2 separate regions of the Homo sapiens genome follow, and region 1 is linked to region 2. Evidence: promoter capture Hi-C in human tissues and cell types (Jung and others, 2019). All regions are on one chromosome and are shown on one strand. The core of a region is centred on a gene start or on the middle of the fragment in contact, and the rest is flanking DNA. Distances in the headings are between cores, read along the strand shown. Region 1 overlaps LOC105369896 (a long non-coding RNA gene). Region 2 holds the start of CCER1 (coiled-coil glutamate rich protein 1).

Region 1 (4,828 bases), core at 5-2,504, 360 kb before region 2:
ATAAAGAAAAAAATTATTGAAAAGGATTTATGTTCTTTCTACCGTGACTGTAATCAGTTTTGCTAATCTCACATTTTTACTTATCTTGACATCAGGGTTATTTTTTTTTTAATTCTTTCATTTTTATTTTTTTAAAACTCTAACTTACCTAGAATGACTTATGATTAAACAACTTCCCAACACAGTTATAGATCTATTAAGGGACAAAAGCCAAGCAAAGTATATATGGATAAAATGATGTCGGCAAATTTTTAAATTTACAAACATTAAAAATAGAGACATTGTCTTTTATCTCTCTGAATATTTATATTTACAATATAAAATGAAGTCATGAAGCTATGCCCATCTGTTTATTTTTTAAAATCCGTGGTGTCAACAGTTTAAAAGTTTCCAGTAAAAAGCAGGAATGAAAGCATTCTTGTGGGATGTAGTCAAATCAAGGAATTCTGTCCAGATCTTGAAAACAAACAAGAGTTTTGGCTTATTTTGCAGAAGAGTTTGGATCATGCATGTAACTTTAATAATTTGTAAACACTTTTGCAACTGAATATATATACAACATATATCAGTATATATATTTTAATTAGAAGCAAAGTGCTAAGGAGACACCATGTAGGTTAATGACTGTAAAAATCTTGGTGACATAAAGCATAGTTTAGAAGCTGGTGGTGTTGACTGTAGATAGGCTACCAGCATGGAAGGAGGATATTGAAACTGGGAGGAATCACTTGTGTCTGGGTATTATTTACTGGGACTTGACTATGAACATGACACTAGAGAATATCAAAGCATCCATGGTCTTTCATTGTTCCCTTAGTCTATGCTCCACCATGCTACGCTCCATCTGGGCCTTAGAAAGCTAATTTCTGCAAACTGCCTCACTGTAATTTCTTTGCCAGCTGGCTTCTGCTTCTAACCAGACAGTGGTCCTAGTGCACTGAGATAGGAAGGTGGGAGGAGAGGAAGTTGTACATTACCTTGTCCTTGGTAATAACTTTTTTTCCTTTTTCCCACTAGAAAGCAACATTTTTGCAATTCTAATCCTCAGTGAATGCTGGTAACACCATTTCTTCCTCATGCCTCTTTGGTCCTGTGAGAGGAAATTACTTTCAGCTGTTGCTAGTCTCAGCATGCTCCACCATCCCTGATTTACTCCTTTTGCTATTCCTATACCTCAGAAAGTACAATACATTAATGTTTTGTTTTGTTTTTCAGTTGAACAATCTGAAGTGAGTTCTGTTTCTTGTCAGGACTCCAGACAATAAAAATAACTGTATTCTTTACAAGTAGAATATCCAAATGCAGAATAATAACATTGGATTTTTATTTCACACTAAAGACAAAAATAAACTCAAGATGGATTAAAGAAAGAAATTTAAGACCTAGAATTGTAAAACTACTAGAAGAAAAACGTAGGGGAAAAGCTCCACAACATTGTTCTAGGCAATGATTTCTTTGATATTACCCCAAAAGCACAGTCAACAAAAGCAAAAATAGACAAATGAAATTTCATCAAACTAAAAAAACTTTACAACAACAACAAAAAAAAAAAGAGTTAAAAGAAAAATTACAGATTAAAAGAAAATACTTGCAAACCATATAGCTGATAAGGGACAAATATCCAAAATATATGAAACTTAAACAATTCAATAACAGGAAAACAACCCAATTAATTAAAACATGGGCAAAGAACTTTGCTATGGTCTGGCTGTCCCCCAAAACTCATATGCTGAAACAACTACCAGTGTGATAGTATTAAGTGGTGTGGCCTGTAGAAGGTGATTAGTCATGAGGCCTTCTCTCTTCTGAATGGGACTAAGGCCCTTAAAAAGAGGCTTATTCAGCATTCAGCCCTTTTGCCTTTTCACCTTCCACTATGTGAGGACACAGCAATGATGCACCATCTTGGAAGCAGAGGGCAGCCCTCGCCAGCCATGGAACTTGTTGATGCCTTGATCTTGGACTTACATAGCTCCAGAACTGTGAAAAACAAATTACTGTTATTTACAAATGATCAAGTCTGTAGTATTTTATTATGTCAGCACAAATGAATTAAGGCAAACCTCAAGAGACATTGCTTAAATGAAGAAATATAAAAGGTGACTAGATATATGAAAAAATGCTCAACATCTCTAATCATCAGGAAAATGCAAATTAAACCACAACAGAATATCACCTAACACTTATTAGAATGGCTATTATTCAGAAAATAAAATATAAACATTAGGAGGTGGAGAAATGAATCATGGTAAATGGTTAGTGGGAATATAACTTAGTACAACCATAATGAAAAACAGGATTTTGAAAAAACTGAAAATTGAATTATCATATGATCTAGCAATCCCACTTCTGGCTATATATTCAAGAGAATCAATATCAGTATGTTGAAAAGATAATCTGTATTCCCATGTACATTGCTGCATTGTTCACAATAGCCAAGATAGGAAAGTAATCTCAGTGTCCATCAATAGATGAACTGATAAAGAAAATGTGTTATATATGCACAATGGAACACTATATAGCCTTAAAAAAGGAGGAAATTCTGTCATTTGTTTCAACACTGATGAACTAGAAAACATTATGCTAAGTGAAATAAGCCAGGCACAGGAAGACAAATACTGCATGATCTCACTTACATGTATAATCTAAAATATTCAAATTCACAGAAGTAGAGTAGAATGGTGGTTACCAGGAGCTGGGGACTGGGAGAGGCAGTGGGAAAATAGGGGAAGGAGAGATGTTGACCAAAGGGTACAAGGCTTCAGTTTGACAGGAGAAATACATTTCAGTGATCTATTGAACAGCATGATGTCTATACTTAATAGTGATATATTGTGTATTTCAAAATTGTTCAACGAGTAGATTTTAAGTGTTCTCACTACAAATAAAAAATAGGTGAAGTGATAGATATGTTAGCTTGATTTAATTGTAATATTCTACAGTATACACTGTATGCATATACATCAAAATATCTCATTGTGCCCTGTAAAAATATAGGATTATTATATGTCAATTAAACATGTTTAAAAAGTGGATATCTGTACAATGTGAAAAGAAAGGGTGGGCTTTGCTTATTATCTCACTGGCCATGGAAATATAATTGAGATAATTAAGACACTTAGCCAAGTAAAAATTATGAAAATTGAAAAAAATTATACCTATTGTATACTTTTAAAAAACAATTATGAAAGGAAATAGTAATTAACATTACTGATTGATTGCAACATGTTAGCTGCATCCCTGTGAATTAAGCACTATTGGTACCTCCATTTTAAAATATAGAAACTGGTTGGGTGTGGTGGTTTACGCCTGTAATCCCAGCACTTTGGGAGGCCAAAGAAGGAGGATCACTTGAAGTCAGGAGTTTGAAACCAGCCTGGTCAACATGGTGAAACCTGGTCTCTACTAAAAATACAAAAATTAGCCAGGCATGGTGTATGTGCCTGTAATCCCAGTTACTCAGGAGGCTAAGGCATGAGAATTGCTTGAACCCAGTTGAGGGTTCAGTGAGCCGAAGCTGCAGTGAGCCGAGATGGTGCCATTGCACTCCAACCTGGGTGACAGAGGGAGACTCCATCCCCAAAAAATAAAAATAAAATATAGAAACTAAGGTACTGAGAAGTTAAATGACTTGCCTAAGGTCACACAGTTATGGAATGGCAGAGGAAGAATTTGAACTCAGGCAGATCAGCTCCTATGCCTACACTCTTAACCACTAAACACTGTTAGAAAGAAAACAGAAAGTTAAGGGAAGTAACATTTACTGAATACCTGCTACATGTCTGGAAGTGTAATAGGTGTTTTTCTCATACCATCTCATTTATTGCCCTTTCACAGCACTGAGGCTGATGTCCATTCCCTATTTTAAGAGGCACTTTCTTGTCTGGCTTTCTGTGACACCACTTGCCCTTCTGGCTTTCTTATTCTTTGCCAGCCACTTTCTCTCTCATTTCCTCTGTTGGCTCTTAGCTTGTCAACCTCTAAACATCTGAGCATTCTGAATTTCCTACTTGCTTCTATGCCTCCTGGTTTAGCTCTAGTAATTGAGTGACTTTAAAAGGCTAACTATATTTGGATGACTCCAGTGTTTTTATTTCCAACTTGTCCCCCCTTCTAAATGTATGTTCAACTGTCTCCTTGACAGCTTTGGGTACTCAGTAAGCATCTCAAACTTTGTATTAATTAATTTCTTCCTCAACCTGCTTCTCTCTGTCACTTCCATTTTTATTAAATAGCATCATTATCTGTTCCAGTGGATCAAGCTAAAAATTCAGGAATTGTCCTGGAACATGCACACGTTTCTTCTCCCAATATTGTATCACCGGTAACTTCTGTCATCTCTACATCCAGAACATGTTCCGGTCTATCCGTGTCTCTTCCTGCTGACTGCCTTCATCATTTGCCTCAGCAATTGTAGTAGTTTCCTAACTTACCTTCCTCTTTCCAGTCTTGCCGTCCTTCAAATATTTCTACACATAGAAGCCAAAATAATTATTATAAACATAGCATGCCCCTTGACTGCTTCAAATCCTTTATTAGTTTCTAAATAAAATGCAATCTGACCCCTCCTTTATATAGAGTCCAAACCTCACCTAAACTGTTTTCTGTTGAAGGAATGAATCCTGTCATAGAAATGTTTGGTCTTTATAACCATATGCCACTTTTTGCCAAAGTAGAAATAGAGGCAAGTGTGTGTATGACTATTTCCTCCCCTCCCTCAGTAACTCCTGAAATCAGTTTTTTGTTTTGTGGCTTCTGCTAAAGGTAAGACATAGTACTATGGTGGGCATTTTTCATGTATTATCTTAATAATTATTTATAATGACAA
Region 2 (4,331 bases), core at 1,710-4,209:
CTTATTCACTACCACGAGAACAGTATGGGGAAACCACCCCCATGATTCAATTATCTCCCACTGGCTCCTTCCCACAACATGTGGGAATTATGGGAGCTACAATTCAAGATGAGATTTGGGTAGGGACACAGCCAAACCATATCACAGCCTGTTGCACCCATGGACAAAGGGCCCACTAAGATATTCCTGGACCCCTGATTCCTGAAAACCTTGAGATAATAAATGTATATTGTTTTAAGTAACCAAGGTTGTGATCATTTGTTATGCAGCAACAGAAAGCTAATACAATATTCAACAACAGGATGAATGTGTTATATTTCAATATTGAATCAGAATATTTCATTTCATGGTATTGAAAGAATATGGGTCAATTAAAAATGTGTCCTTACATTGGTCAACAGGTACAAAGTTACAGGTAGGGAGAAGGAGTAAGTTTTGGTGTTCTAATGCACATCAAGGTGACTACAATGAACACCAATGTATTGTGTATTTCAAAATAGCTATAAGAGAGGATTTTAAATTCTCACCACAATTAAACGACAAATACTTGAATATACTAATTAGCCTAATTTGATCATTTCATAAAGTATATATGTATGGAAATATCACATGGTGCCATATATATATACAATAATTTGTCACTAAAAAAAGAACTATAAAAGTGTCTTTAAAAATTAATTAAATGTCTGACTTTTTGTTTAACATGCTTTAGTGGTAAATTTTCTTGGATGATTTACCAGTACATTCAAAACTTGTATTATAATTCCAATCTCTGTAAAATTAAAATCATAATCAAAATAATAAATTGCTGCTTCTCTTAAGAAAATTCGGGCAAGCCAATAACGTGTCAATGTTGTTCAGTAGGGAGAATAAATATTCTCACCATGCAAAAAGTATATAATGCCAAGATTAACTGTATAAAGGTCACATCAACTGATCAAAAAATGATGTCCTTAATTACCTGTAAAATGAGTTAACCATCTCTTTTAAAACAAAAAGAAACTGATTGGAATTTCAACACAGCAACATGGTCCATCTGTAATGCTCTCAATTAAAACCCATTTTTGCATAACACACGTCCTTAGAAAAAAATAAAACTGGGCTCTCACCATTCCATTTTGAGTACACAGAGCAGGGTCAGAATAACTGCCAAAGGTGAGTCCATATCTAGAAAGGGATACTGCAGGCTAAACATGTCAGCATTCTGTACTTTGAGTCAAGCAGGGGTGTCCTCAGCAAACCACAGAGCAAATGAAATTAAATGAAGCCTGTGGATTCTACAGGTCTCAGGGCAAATGTTGGAGTCCTGATCCAAGACCCCCTATAATGTTCTCAATTTTCAGCCAGGAATGCATAAATGACCTTTGCCAGCTTCAGGGCTTTCACACATTTTGCTTTTCTGGCATTTAATGGAGCCTTATATAGACTGAAGTTCCCAGCAGGCAGTTTTCCATTTTGTGCAATTCCACTCAGCACAGAAAAGTAAGAAAGGGATATAAACTGAGACGGTTTTCTCTAGGACCAAGTATGGTAGCACTTTCCTTGACGTTTTACAAAGAAGGACAAGAAAAGGACACAAGCCAGGGTGGGGATGCCTATTTTTGCATCAAGAACAAGTGCCTTTACATATACTATATCATCTCTTTTAGAAGTCATGAAGTATTTACAAATAAGGATGATAGTTAACAGTTACTGAGTACTTACAGGGTACCTGCACTAAGTACTTGAAGGAATTACAGTAAGTCCTCACTTAGCATCATAGGTTCTTGGAAACTGCTACTTTTAAATGAGAAGACATATAATGAAACGTGGTTTTGTTATTGTTGTTGTTTTGCCTCAGCAACGTTATAAGGAAATGACATTGAGCAAAACATTAATATTAGAGGACCTGTTATATGCATTTAATTCTTTACACAACCGTATGGAAAAGGTAGTATAATCATGGTATGGGTAAGGAAACTGAGGCTTACAGAGATTAATAATTGGTGAGTTGAAGTTGAATCCCATTTATTTAAATTAAAACCCATATGCTTAACCACAATGCTTTAAAGGCTTCCCGTGTATATGCTGTATGGTCAGTGAAGGGACAAAAGGAAAGACAATCAGAATATTCCTCTTCCCAAGGACAAACCTGTGGTATTCATTATGGTAATAATAATATTTGTTTAATTGAGGTACACATGTACGGTATATTACCAATAGCAAAGTACCTTCCCAAATGTTATGTCATTTAGTTATCACAAGGGTCCTACTGGGGGTTTGGTAGAACACATAGCAATGTCATTAGGAACCTAACTTTTGGGTCAAACAGGTTTAGGCTTAAATCGTAGCCTGGAAATTTATTAGCCCCACAACCATGGGGAAATTAAGCTCTCAGTTCCCTCATCTGTGACAGGTGATAAGATACGCCTACCTCTCAGGGTAGATGACAGGATTATTTGTCAGTGAGCACATGCAATAATAAATGTTCGTGGTCTTGTTTTATGTATTATGAATCCCAATTCTCAGGAGTAAGAAGAGTTGGCACCGGCCAGAAGGTAAGAGGTTGGGCAAAGTTTCCTTTCTCCAGTAATTTTCCATGATCCCTTAGGCCCTCCAAAGGTGTAGAATGTGGGGTTTTCAAAACTCAAGTTCTCCCGCCCCCACCGGGTTCAGATGAAGGCCCATCTTCTAAACCCCCGCCTCAAGGTGATACAAAGCTTTCGGATAAACTGCCTCCAGACTTGCTTGAATTGAGCAGCAGAAACCCAGCCTGGACCCCTCTTCACCTCCCCCAAACGCTGCGTCACAAGCCCCCTGCGAATGTTCACCTGGAGCCTGGTTCCGGACAGAACCCGGCCTTGCACACAGGGAGGACGATTTCGACCCCAATTGGCTGTTGCCCTGGGTGACCAAGAACGCAGTGGGCACGCGGGAGACCACAGCCAGTATTTAAAGGCTGCCGCTGCCCTCGCCACCACAGTCCTGCCAGGACGGCGACAGTGAAGCACCTGGGTTGAGAGGGAGCAGCAGGTAACTGCGCAACCCCTGCCTCCCCCGGCCCCAGCCCGTGCCTCAGCAGAGCCGGGTGTGGTGGGGACCCGGGAGTGGGTCTCACTGCGTGTCGCCTGCCAACACCTTCCTCCCCCACCATCCTTACCCAGCCCCAGTCCCACCCAGCACACCTGGGCGAGACAACCCAGGTGCGAAGGACAAGCGATTACTACCGAAGAGCGTGCAAACCAGGAAGAGAGCAGCCTCCTGGAGAGGAAAACGTGATCCCAGGGGTAGACACGTGGCGCTGCGTGGAGAGACAGGTTGACGAGACGAGGCTCTTCTGACCGTCCTACCTGGCAAAACTTGACGACAGCTTCAGGTCGCTACCATCTGGACCTCTCGGAGCTCCCTGAACCATGACTCAGACCCTCGACACAAGGGAAGACCCTCTGAACCTGGGCGGCGGTGGCGGCGGCGGCTGTGGCTGTGGCTGGGCACACTCGGCCTCCTTGAGCTCCTGGTCGTCCTGCCATCGAAGGCGCCCGGGTGCTCCAGCGTACAATAGACCGCACCGATATAGCCCCAAGACCGAGTATGGGCCCCCAAGGAAGCAGCCGAAGCAACAGCACGGCCCGGGCTTTTGGTTCCAACCACCCGTGTGCTCTAACTGGGGGTGCTGGGGAGGGCCCTGGCGCCCACCCCCTCCAGGATTCTGGAAATTCCCCTGCCCGGTGCAAGTGTTTCGGGTGTATGGCCTGCACCCTCTCTGCTTTTGCTGCTGCTCCTGCTGGAGCGGGTCCTGGAACCCTGGCTGGGTGAAGCCCCCAGGCAGGAAGAAGCGCTGGGGCCGCAGAGGCCGCGGCCTGCGCCACCACCCTCGCCACTCCTACCCGCGGAGCCCGCCAGCGGATGTGAGCACGCTGCCGCGGCCGGTCAAGCTGTATGAGTGGAGAGAGCCTGGCATGCGAGCGCCGCCCAACACCACCCAATTCATCATGAACCAGATCTACGAGGACATGAGGCAGCAGGAGAAGGTGGAGCGTCAGCAGGAGGCGCTGCGGGCGCAGAAGGCCACGGTGAGCGGCGAGGCCTCCCCAGCCAGATCCTCCGGAAACGACGCGCCCCCTGGCGGCAGCAAGGAAACCTGGGGACTGCAGGAAACTCTGTATGGCTTTGTGCAGAATCCCTCTCTAGCATTCAGTCCCAACCCAGAGGAAAACCAGTCTCTTGCCCCGCTGCTGGTGGAAGAAGAGGAGGAGAAGAAAAATGATGATGAGGAGGAGTATGACCAGGAGGTGTGTGATGCAAAGGAGGCGAGCGAGGAGGAAGAAGAGGTCGAAGATGAGGAGGAAGAG

What was found. The method cuts DNA at HindIII sites, captures the fragments that hold promoters and counts their contacts. A contact is called where the count stands out against the background at its distance.
Region 1: a fragment that was not itself captured here is called in contact with the fragment with the promoter of CCER1 in region 2 in 1 of the 25 tissues and cell types used here (IMR-90 fibroblasts).

Annotation. Positions count from the first base shown.
Region 1 is chr12:91,312,608-91,317,435 of GRCh38, reverse strand. The region is part of intron 8 of LOC105369896 (a long non-coding RNA gene); the gene reads left to right. It overlaps LOC107984544 (a long non-coding RNA gene), which reads right to left. Exons shown (of 3, transcript XR_001749252.2): 2 at 1,869-1,980; 3 at 982-1,090. Among named protein-coding and RNA genes, the nearest start is that of LINC02823, 12 kb to the left of the region's middle. The HindIII fragment of the contact is 5,212 bases long and covers 1-3,860 here.
Region 2 is chr12:90,953,804-90,958,134 of GRCh38, reverse strand. CCER1 (coiled-coil glutamate rich protein 1) reads left to right here and starts at 2,959. Exons shown (of 1, transcript NM_152638.4): 1 at 2,959-4,331. The coding sequence starts at 3,393. RefSeq lists an enhancer at 3,951-4,050. The HindIII fragment of the contact is 9,241 bases long and covers 1-4,331 here.